Regions from separate parts of the Homo sapiens genome. Here regions 1 and 2 are each linked to region 3. Evidence: promoter capture Hi-C in 16 types of primary human blood cells and fetal thymus (Javierre and others, 2016). All regions are on one chromosome and are shown on one strand. The core of a region is centred on a gene start or on the middle of the fragment in contact, and the rest is flanking DNA. Distances in the headings are between cores, read along the strand shown.

What was found. Contacts are between HindIII fragments. The CHiCAGO score rates a contact against its expected background, and 5 or more counts as called.
Region 1: a fragment that was not itself captured here is called in contact with the fragment with the promoter of GPR26 in region 3 in 1 of 17 cell types (endothelial precursors); the score reaches 6.3 in endothelial precursors.
Region 2: a contact is called between a fragment that was not itself captured here and the fragment with the promoter of GPR26 in region 3, in 1 of 17 cell types (endothelial precursors). The highest score is 6.3, in endothelial precursors.

What each region holds. Positions count from the first base shown.
Region 1 is chr10:123,885,317-123,889,516 of GRCh38, forward strand. All of the region lies in intron 1 of CPXM2 (carboxypeptidase X, M14 family member 2), which reads right to left. Among named protein-coding and RNA genes, the nearest start is that of CPXM2, 4.4 kb to the right of the region's middle. The HindIII fragment of the contact is 1,527 bases long and covers 1,049-2,575 here.
Region 2 is chr10:123,904,772-123,908,966 of GRCh38, forward strand. It overlaps LOC105378534 (a long non-coding RNA gene), which reads left to right. Exons shown (of 3, transcript XR_001747622.2): 3 at 2,167-4,195. It also overlaps a transcript of CPXM2 not described here. Among named protein-coding and RNA genes, the nearest start is that of CPXM2, 15 kb to the left of the region's middle. The HindIII fragment of the contact is 3,557 bases long and covers 763-4,195 here.
Region 3 is chr10:123,663,506-123,667,752 of GRCh38, forward strand. GPR26 (G protein-coupled receptor 26) reads left to right here and starts at 2,850. Exons shown (of 3, transcript NM_153442.4): 1 at 2,850-3,570. The coding sequence starts at 2,903. RefSeq lists enhancers at 2,058-2,595, 2,596-3,134, 3,135-3,672. The HindIII fragment of the contact is 9,100 bases long and covers 1,033-4,247 here.

The DNA.
Region 1 (4,200 bases), core at 562-3,061, 220 kb after region 3:
CAATCGTACACCTCCTCCAAAAGCTCGGGTTATTAATTGTTCCCATGCCATCGTGAGGAACTGATGCTTGGAGAAGTCACAAATGCCCATGAGTGGCAGAACCAGACTTTGACCTCAGCTCTCTCTTCATCCTGGAAAAACTCACCATGGAGCACCTACCTGTGCCTAGCATGAACCAGGCATTCCATACAAATCTGTGACATCAGGGGCTTAAATTAACATGTGAAGCTGTTTTGTGCCATGCTAACCATCCTATGATGCCCAACGAGTAGCCAGCTGGCTGCCAGCCAGATGTGGATGCCAGCCCTTCCAGTGGCCATCCAAAGAAACCCTAATTTCCTGGGTTTTGTGACCCCAGAGTGGTAGCTGCAGTGGCTGGGGCCTGAGAGGGCCACAGAGGGCAGAGCCATTGCTGGAGATGCCAAGCCTGAATGCTCAGGCTCCCTGGACCCTCAGGGACATCCAGAGAAAACCTCCACCTCAAAAGTCAAGGCTCCAGGGCCAGGCTGCCATTGTCCCCACACTAAAGGTGCCATGAGCTCTAGCAGCCATGGACACTTGAGGCATACAGAAAACACAGTGGCTATTTTTAAGAACCACAGCATGCAGTCCAGCTTTCGCAAACGTGGGTGTGTCCTCCTTTATTATCCATGCGCGAGCCCTGGTTTCTGGAACCTTGGGCACAGGCAAGAGGAAATTTGCCAGCATTAATAGTTGACTTTGGAAAGCATTTTGGAAATGGAGGTGGTGTCTTAGAAAGCTGCTTGCTAATGTACAGGAAATGACGTCCTCTCCCTTGGAATTCTATAGGGAGTTTACCTGGACAAAACACTTTGGATTTAACTCTTAAAGTAAGCATATAATTTGACATGAAGGATTGCTTGTTAATTGTTTAGGTATGCTAATAGCATTGTGATTGCTTTTTAAAGTACTTATTGAAATATTTACAAACACAGCTTCCTAATCCTTACACACTCCCATTTTGCCCAGGAGAAGACATTTCCATCCAAAAGCCAAATGCAGCAAAACACACTGAAAAGAGAAGGAAAGCTTAAATGTGAAGCCCTTTTCACCAACTGGCTTACGGCACACACAACAGAAAAGGCTTTGTTTACAACCAAATATGCTCAAAGAACAACTCTTTGGTTATTTCCCCCTGCAACTGGGGCCCAGCACAGTACAAAATGCAAACTCAATGATTCTGAGCACAGACACACAAACAAACGTGGCTCGCTGCCCCCTCTGCAAATTCCACGGGCTCAAGACTATGGCGATGATGTGGGTTTGTCCACATTCAAACAGCGGTGCATTCTCACCAGCACAGGAAGAAAGTTATGAACAAAGGACCAAGCAGAAACTCAAATTTAAAGACTACATATCCAAGCCTACTTCTAACCCAATGTGCAATGAAGAGAGAAATAAATAAAATCTTCAAATCCCTCATTCAAATCAATAGTTCAGCTTATTATTTGATTTGATTGTTACTGCCAAGTGGGAGGAAAAGGATAAGTTCTATAACTATGGTTTATTTTTCTGTTCTATTTTATTCTTCAAAAGGAATATGGCTGCAAACCAGGGTCATCAATTTGAAGATGGCATGGAAAGTAAGACACCCCCAAATCCACTTGCACGTGCAAAATGTGGCCCCTTACCTTATTCATAACCCTGGGAGAATGAAAACTGAGGACCTGAGATTCACTCCCGTGGCCTTAAATCATTCCAACTGCAGGGATCTAGAAACTGTCAAATTCAATTCGAAACAGCTAAATAAATGGAATTAGAGAGCAGAACGTTGTCAAGTTCATATGAGGAAGAACATTCTAGCAATAAGTACTCTTCATCCACTGAATGGTGAGAGTCCATCCATGGAAGCCTGTGAGCAGAGGCCGGGCAGCTCACTGTTAGAATCTCGCAATAAGCAAGAATCTGTGCTCAGTGTCCACTTAGGTCCTTAGAGTTCTAAAATTCTCGGATGGATGAGTGTTCACAATGAGGACCTCAGAAACTGTACAGTACCAAAATCCTACTGCAACCTAAGAAAAAGATTCTACGGTTCCATATCCTGACAGTGGTGGTGGTTCCATGAACCTGTACATGTGATAAAAACTACAGAGAACATGCCTACAAATGCATGTAAGAACTGGTCAAATCTGAGTAAGGCATGTAATCTAGTTAACAGTATCACTGTCAACCTCCTCATTTTGATACTGTATACAACAGTGACTCCCATCCCCCTGGGGATATTTGGCAATGTCTGGAGACATTTTTGGTTGTGACAACAGGGGGGAGGGTGCTACTGGCATCCAATTTGGAGTCCAGGGACACTGCTAAACATCCTGCAATACACAGGAAGGCAACCCCCTTCCTCCTCTGTTGGCACGTACACACAACACACACACACACATACACAAACAAACACACAATTGGCCCAAAACATCAATCCTGCCAAGATTGAAGTATCTTGTACTAGAATCATCTAAGAGGTTATCACTGGGGGGAGCTGACAAAGCGTACATGGGGCCTCAGTGTACTATTTTTGCAATTTCCTGTGAGTTTATAATTATTTCAAAATAAAAGCTTAAATAAATGTTTTTAAAGATTCCATTCTGTTTAATATATTGGGGCTCTACTTCTCTGGAAACCTGTTAGCCACTCATGGAAAATGCAATACTCTCAGTTAGCCAAAGGGTTCAGTTCTCCAAGCATCTCCATGAATGTCAGCATGTCACACCCATTGGGCATTTCTGTGGTGGTGCGAAAGAACAGCCAATGGTCAAAGCCAGAACCCACATCAAGATCAAATCCCCAATGCCCTTGGCTCCTTGCATAAACCCCGCTACAGGGTTAAAACAGGGCTCCCTCCTAGGGCCTACCACATAGAAAATCTGCCTGTGTGGGGAATCACTGCTGAATACATCTTTCCTTGCACTCACCTTTATGCAAAACAAGAGCTATCTGGGAAATATTTTATCATCTGCAAAGATAAAGTACATATAGACTTTTAATTAGTTATATATGCTTTTATACTGTTATGCATCTCTAAATTGAACCCCTCACTCCCACCTCAGTGCCTCATACATAGCATTGCATCATCCACCCAGTGAAGCAAAGTACAGAAGTTTGCATTAAACACTCCAGGCCACAGTCCAATGTTCCTTCCTATGTAAGTGCCTTCCTAAGATATTCCAAAACAATCCAATGCAGAGATAAGTGCTTCTATTACACCACGAGCAGCATATAGATCAAGCCGCTACTTAAAGTAGAAAAAAAATAATTTTCTCCTAGTGTAGTTTAACTGCACAAAACTGTCACTGATTCCCCTAACTAAGTTCACGCTTAAACCAGTCTTCCCACTTTGGTCCAGGGCAGAGGATTCTGCTGAGCAAACACCAAAATAAAAAAGGACAGGAGTTAAAAATATGAGATAAATGTCACACTTGTCTTGTCATGGTTGGGGAGAGCTCTAAAAAAGCCCCACAGAATTCATTAGAAACACAGCTGACATGGTAGCAGGTCTGCAGGCAGCTGTCCCAACAGGCCTCTGATGTGAGTCTCTAGATCTTCCGAAGACGTGTTTTCAGTATGGGGCTTGGAGATCCCGGTGGATGCCAGGGCTGCGGTGAACTGGGCAATGTGTCCTGCAGGAGCAGAGGCTAGGCACCGAATCAACAGGCTCCCCCATGGCCTGTCTCTACCTGCAAGATGGCCTTCCAAAACCAAATGAGCTTTTTCTTGCAAATTCAGGTTACACTCTGATTTCTCCTCCAGAGACCCCATTCCAAGAGTGGCAAGAGCTGTTTCTCCAAGGACTAAAGAGAGTCACTTCCCCATGTAACCCCTGAGTCTGCAGACACATTAGTCTGTGGACACTGCTCAGGCCAGGCTGTGACTTTCTGAGATGTGTTTTGTAGGGAAAGAAACCTATCTTAGGAATGATGTCCGGTCACTTGTACGAGTCCCCAGGACAATCAAGCTGACTTACTTGTCAAGTCTTAAACATCACCTCTTCGGGGAAGCATTACGCAAGCCCCCACAGATTCAGTGAGCTCCCCCAGCTTGTTTGTTACCTTAACACCCCACACTTTTGTGCAACCCTTAACACAACTGTGATTACTTTCTCAGAGTTCCCAGCTAGTTCCATGTGGTGGGGGGCGGGGGCTGGGGGGCAGGGAAGAGGAACGTCTTGCTCTCCCCATTCCT
Region 2 (4,195 bases), core at 1,291-3,790, 240 kb after region 3:
CCTACCTTCTCATCAGGCATTCCCCTCTGCCAGCACCCATCTACCACTTCCTTCTAGTTATGTCAGCCCCTCCCTCATTTCCCCAACCTCTGTGACCTCCCCATCCCACCCACCCACCTGGAGGGCCCGAGCTCTGCATCACACCTGCATCCTAGTGAGGGATCAGCCTCCTGTGCTCTGTGAAGCACAAGTCCGTGAGGTTCACCCTGTGACAGGAGCTGGGTCAGGCAGGTGGCAGGTAGCAGGTGTGCTGGAAAATGCGTGAAGACAAGGACAGAGCAGGACTTTCCACCTGTTACCAGGCGCTTGCATTCCAAGTGGAGCTTCCCTGAGTGAGGCTATTTCTGCAGTCAAATGCTCTACCGCTGAGCTATACCCCCAAGTGAGGCTATTTCTAATGTGGGCCTTTCAGCAAGGAAAAAGAGGAAATGAAGAGAAAAGAATGAACCCCGCCACACAGCCTGGGAGCCGGGCCATTTGCAGGCAGTGCTTCCAGAATGAAAGGCCTTCCGCGAGCAGCTTGACTGCCCTGCTTGGATTCTGTGCTGGGATGGTGTGACCTTCTGATAAAGCCATGGTCTCAGATAGTGCAGCACAGGGACAGAGCACTGGACAAGGAGCCACTTTGGCTCTCGGGATGCCACTCTCTTTGCCTGAGGCTTTCAAGGCCTCAGCTGTCCCATCTGCCAATCCGGGCATTGGACAGATGACCCTGCCGTTTGAGCCCCTGACTTTTCTGATAAAGCTTGACCACAGCTCTGAAGCTTTCAGTCCAGGGCAGAGGATGCCAATGACCGAGGGATGGCCCAACCCAGCACAAGAGATTCCAGACCTCCTCTGGCCCCTGGGTCTAGGCTGCCTCCCACCTAATGTGACCGTACATTCCCACTGCTCCTTCCCACGCAGCTTCTCCCTATTCACGAAGCCGTCTCTGTGATGCCAGGGTCAGACCATCCTGGGGGTCCCCTCCCAGCCCTCTTGCCTGTAGTTTCTTCTGTTTCTCGCCTTCCTGCCTCCCACCCCACCCTCACCCAGTCATCCTCCATCTCCTGCGTTCTGACTCCTCACCCAGAAACGCTGCCTTTGCCATCTCCCCCTCAGGAGACACGCTCAAGCCCTGTGGTTTTTCCAGGCCACCTTGAGGCTGATGTCCAGAGCCCGAGCTCTGGCTCTCGGGTTCTATGTGAACAGGCCAAGCCCCACCTCCCGACGGTCTGTCCACTCTTCCTTCGGCCAGTGACGCCCAGGTACTGAAGTGGGGGCAGGTCATCCACATGGCCCGCACCTTTGCTCTCACATCCCACTGCCAGGCATAGCCTTGCCAGCTCCAGAAAGCCTCCCCCTGTCTGCTCCTGCACCCATCTCCCACTCCGGATCCCCAAGTCCATGCATTTCATCCCAGAAGTCCTCAGAAATGTGACCGAAGGGCAACATGGGCACACTACAGGCTAACCTCGTTCTTTAACCTTACTGAGCCTCTGTGTCCTGATCTATAAAATGAGACACTAATGTCTACCTAGAAGAGAGATGGAACCAAGGTGCTTCACAAAATGAAACGCTACGTAAATGTCAGGCCCAATGCTGAGTCAAGGCCAGCTCACTCCTCCTCCTCACCCACAGTAGCCTCCTCACTCTCATAGATACAGCACCTTTCTTCCAGACAGCTACGGGATCTTAATGGATCTGCCAAATCACTGTTCCCCAAACACCCTTGCTATAAATCATGTCAGCTTCACTCAGCTGCCTCTGAGGTTCTGAGCATGTGTGCATGATATTGGAATAAAATTTAAATTAAATCCAGAAGCTGCAACACTTCATAAAACTTAAACTGCAAATTCCTCACTGTGGAATGCCAAACTGAAAAAGTAATCAGAAATAAATACTTCATTTCGCCTCATGTGCCCTGAAGACCCCCAAACTTGGCTCCAAAAGATCTGGGGCCTTCCAAAGACAGGAAATCTATGCAAGAAACTTCTCACATGGCCTCAGGATTCAAGCCATCCCCATGCACTTTTAGGAGAGAAAGCAGAGTCCCAAACCAAGGACCAGGATGGAAAGCAACCCCCAAATTGTGCCGGATCAAGAGATTAGGGAGGATGTCTTTGCTGCTTTCCAGGTGGATGTCTGGCTGCCTCCCTTGCAATAACCAGCTCTTGTCTTCTTCAGGTGAAATTTCCAACTGCCCAGAAGCTGCCTGGTGGATGCCTGCTACCCATCTGAAGTTCACCTAAAGGATTTACGAGTTTCTGCCCTACAAGTTTGATGCAAAGTTCATGCTGAGAGGCACCTTAGGAAACACGAAGCACGGTGTGTGCATGTGTGTTCTAAATAGTAGAGTTTCCAGGAGGGCTTCCATCAGCACCGAGTGTTTACGAGAGACTGCCACAGCGGTGTGGTAGACATACCTGCTCCTGCTGCCAACACGATTTGCTAGTGTAATTAACATTCAGGCTGAAACTGGAGAAGGCAGTTCAACTCACAAAGACTATTTTTAGAGACCTCTTAATGGAAAACTCTGTTCCTTTCAAACCACACAGCTTTCTGTAATTAGAAGAGAGACTATTATTCAAGTCAGATTTTACTTTTTCTCACATTTCTGTGCTTTATGCAATGTTATCCTAAAACTGCATTTACTTGGGGAGGACAACACACAGAGAAGCGGCATCGCTGGGCGGGGCCCTCGCAGCGTCCTTACCCACCCTCCCGCAGCACAGGGAGGATGTGGTCACCAGCACAATCCCCCACCCCCACCCCAAGTCCCACCCTGACCCTACTGGGGATCACTTAGGTGACACGGCACCATCCTGTGCATTTTTCTCTTAGAAACTGGCTACAGGTTCCCCAAAAGCTCTGACATTTCTGGGGGATAGTTTAAAATGTGTCTTCTATCATTCCCATTACAGAAACATAGATGCCCCCCCTCCCACAAGTTCATTCATGTGCCCATCAAATAGCATCTCCTTGGTGCCAAGAAAGGGACTGGACCCCGCAAGGCGCCCACCCAGATGTACACTGAAGGCACCATCCCTGCCTTCATGGAGCTTATTTTCTAGTGTGGGGACTAGGGGGATTGTGCTAAACCAGGCAATACATCAGCAAAACATACAGAGCTTTTGATAAACATTTTAAAAAGAAAAAAGGAAGAGAGGGGAAGCAGGAGGAAGGAAGGGAGGGGGAGGAAAGGAAAAGGGGAAGAAGGAAATGAAAGAAGTGAGAAAGGAAGGGAGGAAGCAAGGACTCAATAGGAGACTTTAAACAGGGGAGAGATGTGACAAGGACCATATTCAGGATTGGGTAGAAAGTGGGGATGCTGGTAGACCAGTCTGGGGCTTGTGCAGGGGAGGGATAGTGGTGACTTGGGATGGGACAGGGACTGTGGAGAAGGGAAGAAGGGGACAGATTCAAGTCCACTGTTAGGGGTAGCACCAGTAGGACGTCCTGGAGTGGCCGCAGGTGGGAAGGAGAGAGGAGGAAAGGATGGGGTGGGGGCTTGTGCAGGGGACTTCTGCTGGAGAAAGACTAGGAAGTGAGAACACTTAGATTCCAAAGGCTACAGCTTGAGCAGCAGCTATTGACAAGAGACTCTCTGCTAAGGCCAAATGCAGAAACCATCCTGTTTGCAGATAAGCCAGATCACCTGCAAGTTTCTTCATTCGATCACTCAATCAGAAAATACTGGCTGAGCTCATGCCAGAGCCAGACCCCGGGCAGGTTCTGGGAAGTCGGCCACAAGGACTCAATCTGCAGCCTAGTAGGGAGACAGACATGCAGATGAGGACCACCCTCCCAGGAGGTCAAGGCTACCATGGAGGGCTCGGGGCAAGGAGACAGGTGTGGGGAGAGGGGCCACCTGGTCCATCTGCTTGGGGTACCAGGAATGGCTGCACAGGGACCAGACAACTGAGCAGAGTTCTCCAGAACAGCTGGAGGTGGGCAGGATCTATCCATGTGTTCAAGTTCACTGCAGCTTTAAACAGCCATGAGGTTTTTAATGGCAGAAGGGCACTGGAGACCTTCTGCAGTGAAGAAAATATTCCATATCATGGTTCAGGTACACATTATACATTTGTTAAATGTACAATCTATAAATCAGCAGTGTACAATCAACAAACTGTACACTTTACATCTAATTCACTCTATGTAAATTTTGCTAACAGTACCTTATATCTTCAATTAAAAAAAAAGATTTAAAGCT
Region 3 (4,247 bases), core at 1,600-4,099:
ATAATGGCACTAATCCACTTATGAAGGCAGTGCCTCCATGAGTCAAACACCTCCCATTGGGACCCACCTCCCAATACTGTTGCATTGGGGGTCAGGTTTCCAACACATGAACTTTGGGGGACACATTCAAACTATAGCACAAATAGCTCCTATCTCCTGCCAGGAGCTATTTGTAGGGGACACTTCCTTGGCAGCAGGAGAGACACACAGATGAACAGCGTCCTCTGCTGTCATATAACAGGTATTTAATGAGACATGTAGCCAACACTAAAATCTGTAGGCTACATGAGGGGGCCAAGGGTTGATGATATTGCTAGCATTCTGCCCTGTTTCCTTCTCTGGGAAGCAAAGCTAAACGTACACATTACCTTATGTAGTCATCACCACGGCTCTGAAAGGTAAATAAGAAAACCTAGCCTCAGGGATGTTGAGTAAGTTGCCCAGGGTCCTATGAAATCAGTGAGTGGTGTGTCGTTAAATGTTTAACCACAGGCTGGGGTGGGAGAAGCCCTGATCTATGGAGTTTGCTGATTTCTATAATGCAAAAACTCATTGTGGTGGATTTTAAGCAACCAACATGCTGTCACTGAAGCAGAGATGGAGAGAGATGCCCATAATGGGCCCTTTTGAGCTGGTGTGAGCTGGCTTCAGAACTCCACTGTCTGCAGCTGTCAGTCACTCAGATAACTGTCAATGAGTGTCATCTGTGGACACACAGAGAAGAGAGGGAATCTTGTTTCTGCCCTCCTGACACCTCATTTCATGAGCATTTAATAAAGTTTGGATGTTTGTCCCCTCCAAATCTCATGTTGAAACATAATCCCCAATGTTGGAGGTGGGCCCTGGTGGGAGGCGAAGGCGATTGGATAATGGGGGCAGAGCCCTCATGAATGGGTTGGCACCATCCTGAATGACTTCTCAGTCCATGAGAGATATGGTGTTTAAAAGCCTGGGACCTCCCCCTTCTCTTTCTGGCTTTCACTCTTGCCATGTGACATGCCTGCTCCCACTTTGCCTTTTGCCATGATTAGAAGCTTCCTGAGGCCCTCATCAGAAGCTGAGCAGATGTTGGAGCCATGATTGCATACCTTGCAGAATCATGAGCCAATTCAACCTCTTTTCTTCATCAATTACCCAATCTCAGGTATTCCTTTACAGCAAAGAAAAATGGCACAATACAGCATCTACAATGTGCTTGGTACTATGTGAAGGAGATAATTAAGTATAATGAGGTCTCTACCTTCAGGGCGTAGAGTCCACCACGTCCTTGCTTGGCTTACTTTATCTAGTGGCTTGAGGCCCAGGAATGTCCAGTCACCACTGGCCACACCAGGAGGCTCCAGAACAGGGCTTTCTATGTCCAGGACAGGGATCTGAGGTTGCTGACATGGTGCAGGGGGTCACTGCAGGGCAGCATCTCACAGAGTTGAAGGGGGCTGCAGGGGTTCTGAGAGCTGCCCCTGCCTGTCCATCCCCACCCCTTCCCCACAGAGTCTTGGTTGAGAACCGAAGGGCCACAGTCCCTGCACACTTTGCTGAGGGGAGGCAGGGGTCCCCTGTGTCCAGGGTCTCTGTTGCTTGGACCATGCCTGCCAGCTGACACCCTCCCCATTTTCTGAAGAGTTCTGGCACCTTATATCAGGCAGGTCCCTCATAAACTAGAATGTGCTGCCTCACCAGTCTCAGGGCAGAGGGGTGTGTGGCTTCAGGGCTACAGGAGGCAGCTGCTGGAACTTGGAGCAGGACAACAGAGTATCCACCATACTAGGGTTAGCTGTCTAGGCTGGTTGTGGACAGCCTGGCTTGCCCAGGTGGGAGCAGTCAGGGTCAGCAAAGGCATCTCCCAGCTGGAGAGATGCCCAGGGGATGTTACAGAGAGCCTCGGGGTCCCTGCAGCAGGCTTAGGATTCAGCCGAAGCTCTGGCTGTAGGGCGAGGGAAAGAAGGCACTGAGAATCGAGTAACCTCAGTCATGCAGCAGCTGTTCTTGGGACAGACAGGCTGGGACACTCACGTCAAGGTCTGCCAGGATAGCATGCAGGCGGGGACAGGTGGCACTGGGGCGTGAAGGTGTCCAGGCATCCCTTCCTTTTCTCAGAGAGATTTCCTTGACTCAGCCTGTCTTTGACACACACGGGGGGATGGAGGATGTTGGGGGAAGGGAGCCACAGTGAGCCAATCACCCTGCACCGGAGCCTTCGGGGCTGGTTCCCTCCGAGCCTGTAAGTGTGAGTGTGTGTGCGCGAGTGTGTCTGTGTGTGCACCAGTGGGGATTTCTGTGATAGAAGCAGCCAGATTCCAGAGACAGAGAGAAGAGGAGGGGGAAGAACAAGAGAGGGGAGAAAATTGGGGGTGGGAGAGACAGACGGAGAGAACAGCGCGGGGGGCGGGGAGAGGGAGAGAGGTGGAGGGGAGAGCAGAGAGAGAGAGAGCGAGCCAGAGAGCAGAGAGGGAGGAAGAGAGAAAGCAAGAGAGCGGGAGGGTGCGCGGAGCGGAGCGGAGACAGAGCTCGCGGGCATGGGGTGAGAGCGGGAGGAAGCAGAGGCAGAGGCGGAGCAGGGGCGCAGGTGCCTGCAACCCAGGATCCCGGGGCGCTAAAGGCTTCGGGTTCTACCGCACGCTCAGTCGCTGGCTCCAGAGGTGCTGCTGGGGGCCAGGGTTCACTGCCGCGCGCCAGGTGCCTGCCCGTGAGGCGGCGCGGGGCTCCCGGGTGGCTGCGCGCCCAGACGCCTGCCCGGGAGGCCGCCTGAGGCTCCGGGGTGGCCGCGCGCCCTCCTGGGAGCCATGGCGGCTGGGGCCGGTGGTCGCCGGGCGGCGGCGGCGCCGAGGGGCTGAGCCGGCCGCGGGCAGCGCCATGGCGGCGCCGGGTTGCGGACCCTGAGCGCCGGCGCGGGGCGCGCACCATGAACTCGTGGGACGCGGGCCTGGCGGGGCTACTGGTGGGCACGATGGGCGTCTCGCTGCTGTCCAACGCGCTGGTGCTGCTCTGCCTGCTGCACAGCGCGGACATCCGCCGCCAGGCGCCGGCGCTCTTCACCCTGAACCTCACGTGCGGGAACCTGCTGTGCACCGTGGTCAACATGCCGCTCACGCTGGCCGGCGTCGTGGCGCAGCGGCAGCCGGCGGGCGACCGCCTGTGCCGCCTGGCTGCCTTCCTCGACACCTTCCTGGCTGCCAACTCCATGCTCAGCATGGCCGCGCTCAGCATCGACCGCTGGGTGGCCGTGGTCTTCCCGCTGAGCTACCGGGCCAAGATGCGCCTCCGCGACGCGGCGCTCATGGTGGCCTACACGTGGCTGCACGCGCTCACCTTCCCAGCCGCCGCGCTCGCCCTGTCCTGGCTCGGCTTCCACCAGCTGTACGCCTCGTGCACGCTGTGCAGCCGGCGGCCAGACGAGCGCCTGCGCTTCGCCGTCTTCACTGGCGCCTTCCACGCTCTCAGCTTCCTGCTCTCCTTCGTCGTGCTCTGCTGCACGTACCTCAAGGTGCTCAAGGTGGCCCGCTTCCATTGCAAGCGCATCGACGTGATCACCATGCAGACGCTGGTGCTGCTGGTGGACCTGCACCCCAGGTGAGCCGAGCGCAGCTAAGGCTCTGGGAACAGCCGCGCGGGATCTCGGCGGGAGTGGGAGGTCCCTAGCCCCAGGGGCTCTTTTCCACCGAGCCTCTGTTTCTTCTGAGAACTCGAGGGTGGGGAAAGCGGCCCAGCTGTGGGGCTTAAGGAGGTGCTTAGGGTATCAGCAAACCAGGGCCACAAAAAATGCGGGTGAGCCCATCTATACATCGGTTTTTGAAGCATCAGGGTAGAAATCACAGACAGTCAGAACTCTGTTGGGCTTCTTCATGCACATTTTCTGTGTTTGTAGCTTTCACTTTAAATGGCACATGGGAAGTCCGTGGTCTTTGTTCCCTATTAAAGACCTTCAAAGTGTTTGATTCTGGCCGAGAGGGCGGCCTCGATGCTTAGGGAGCTCCTTAAGAGCTTTTCAGACCCAAGTGTGTCGCTTCTCTGAGTCTTTCCCTTCTCGGGTGTGTGGCGCTGCCTCTGTCTCACGACTGTGTGTGTGTGTGTGTGTGTGTGTGTGTGTGTGTGTGTGAATTCTGATGGACTCGGGCTGCGTCCTTCTCTGTGGTGGGCCCTGAGGGGTGGGGTGGGGGGCTCTTCCTGCCCTCCCCAGAGAGCACTGTCCAATGTCTGCCTGACTTGGTGCCTAGAGGCTCCTGCAGAAGGAGTGTGCCCCAAGGCTC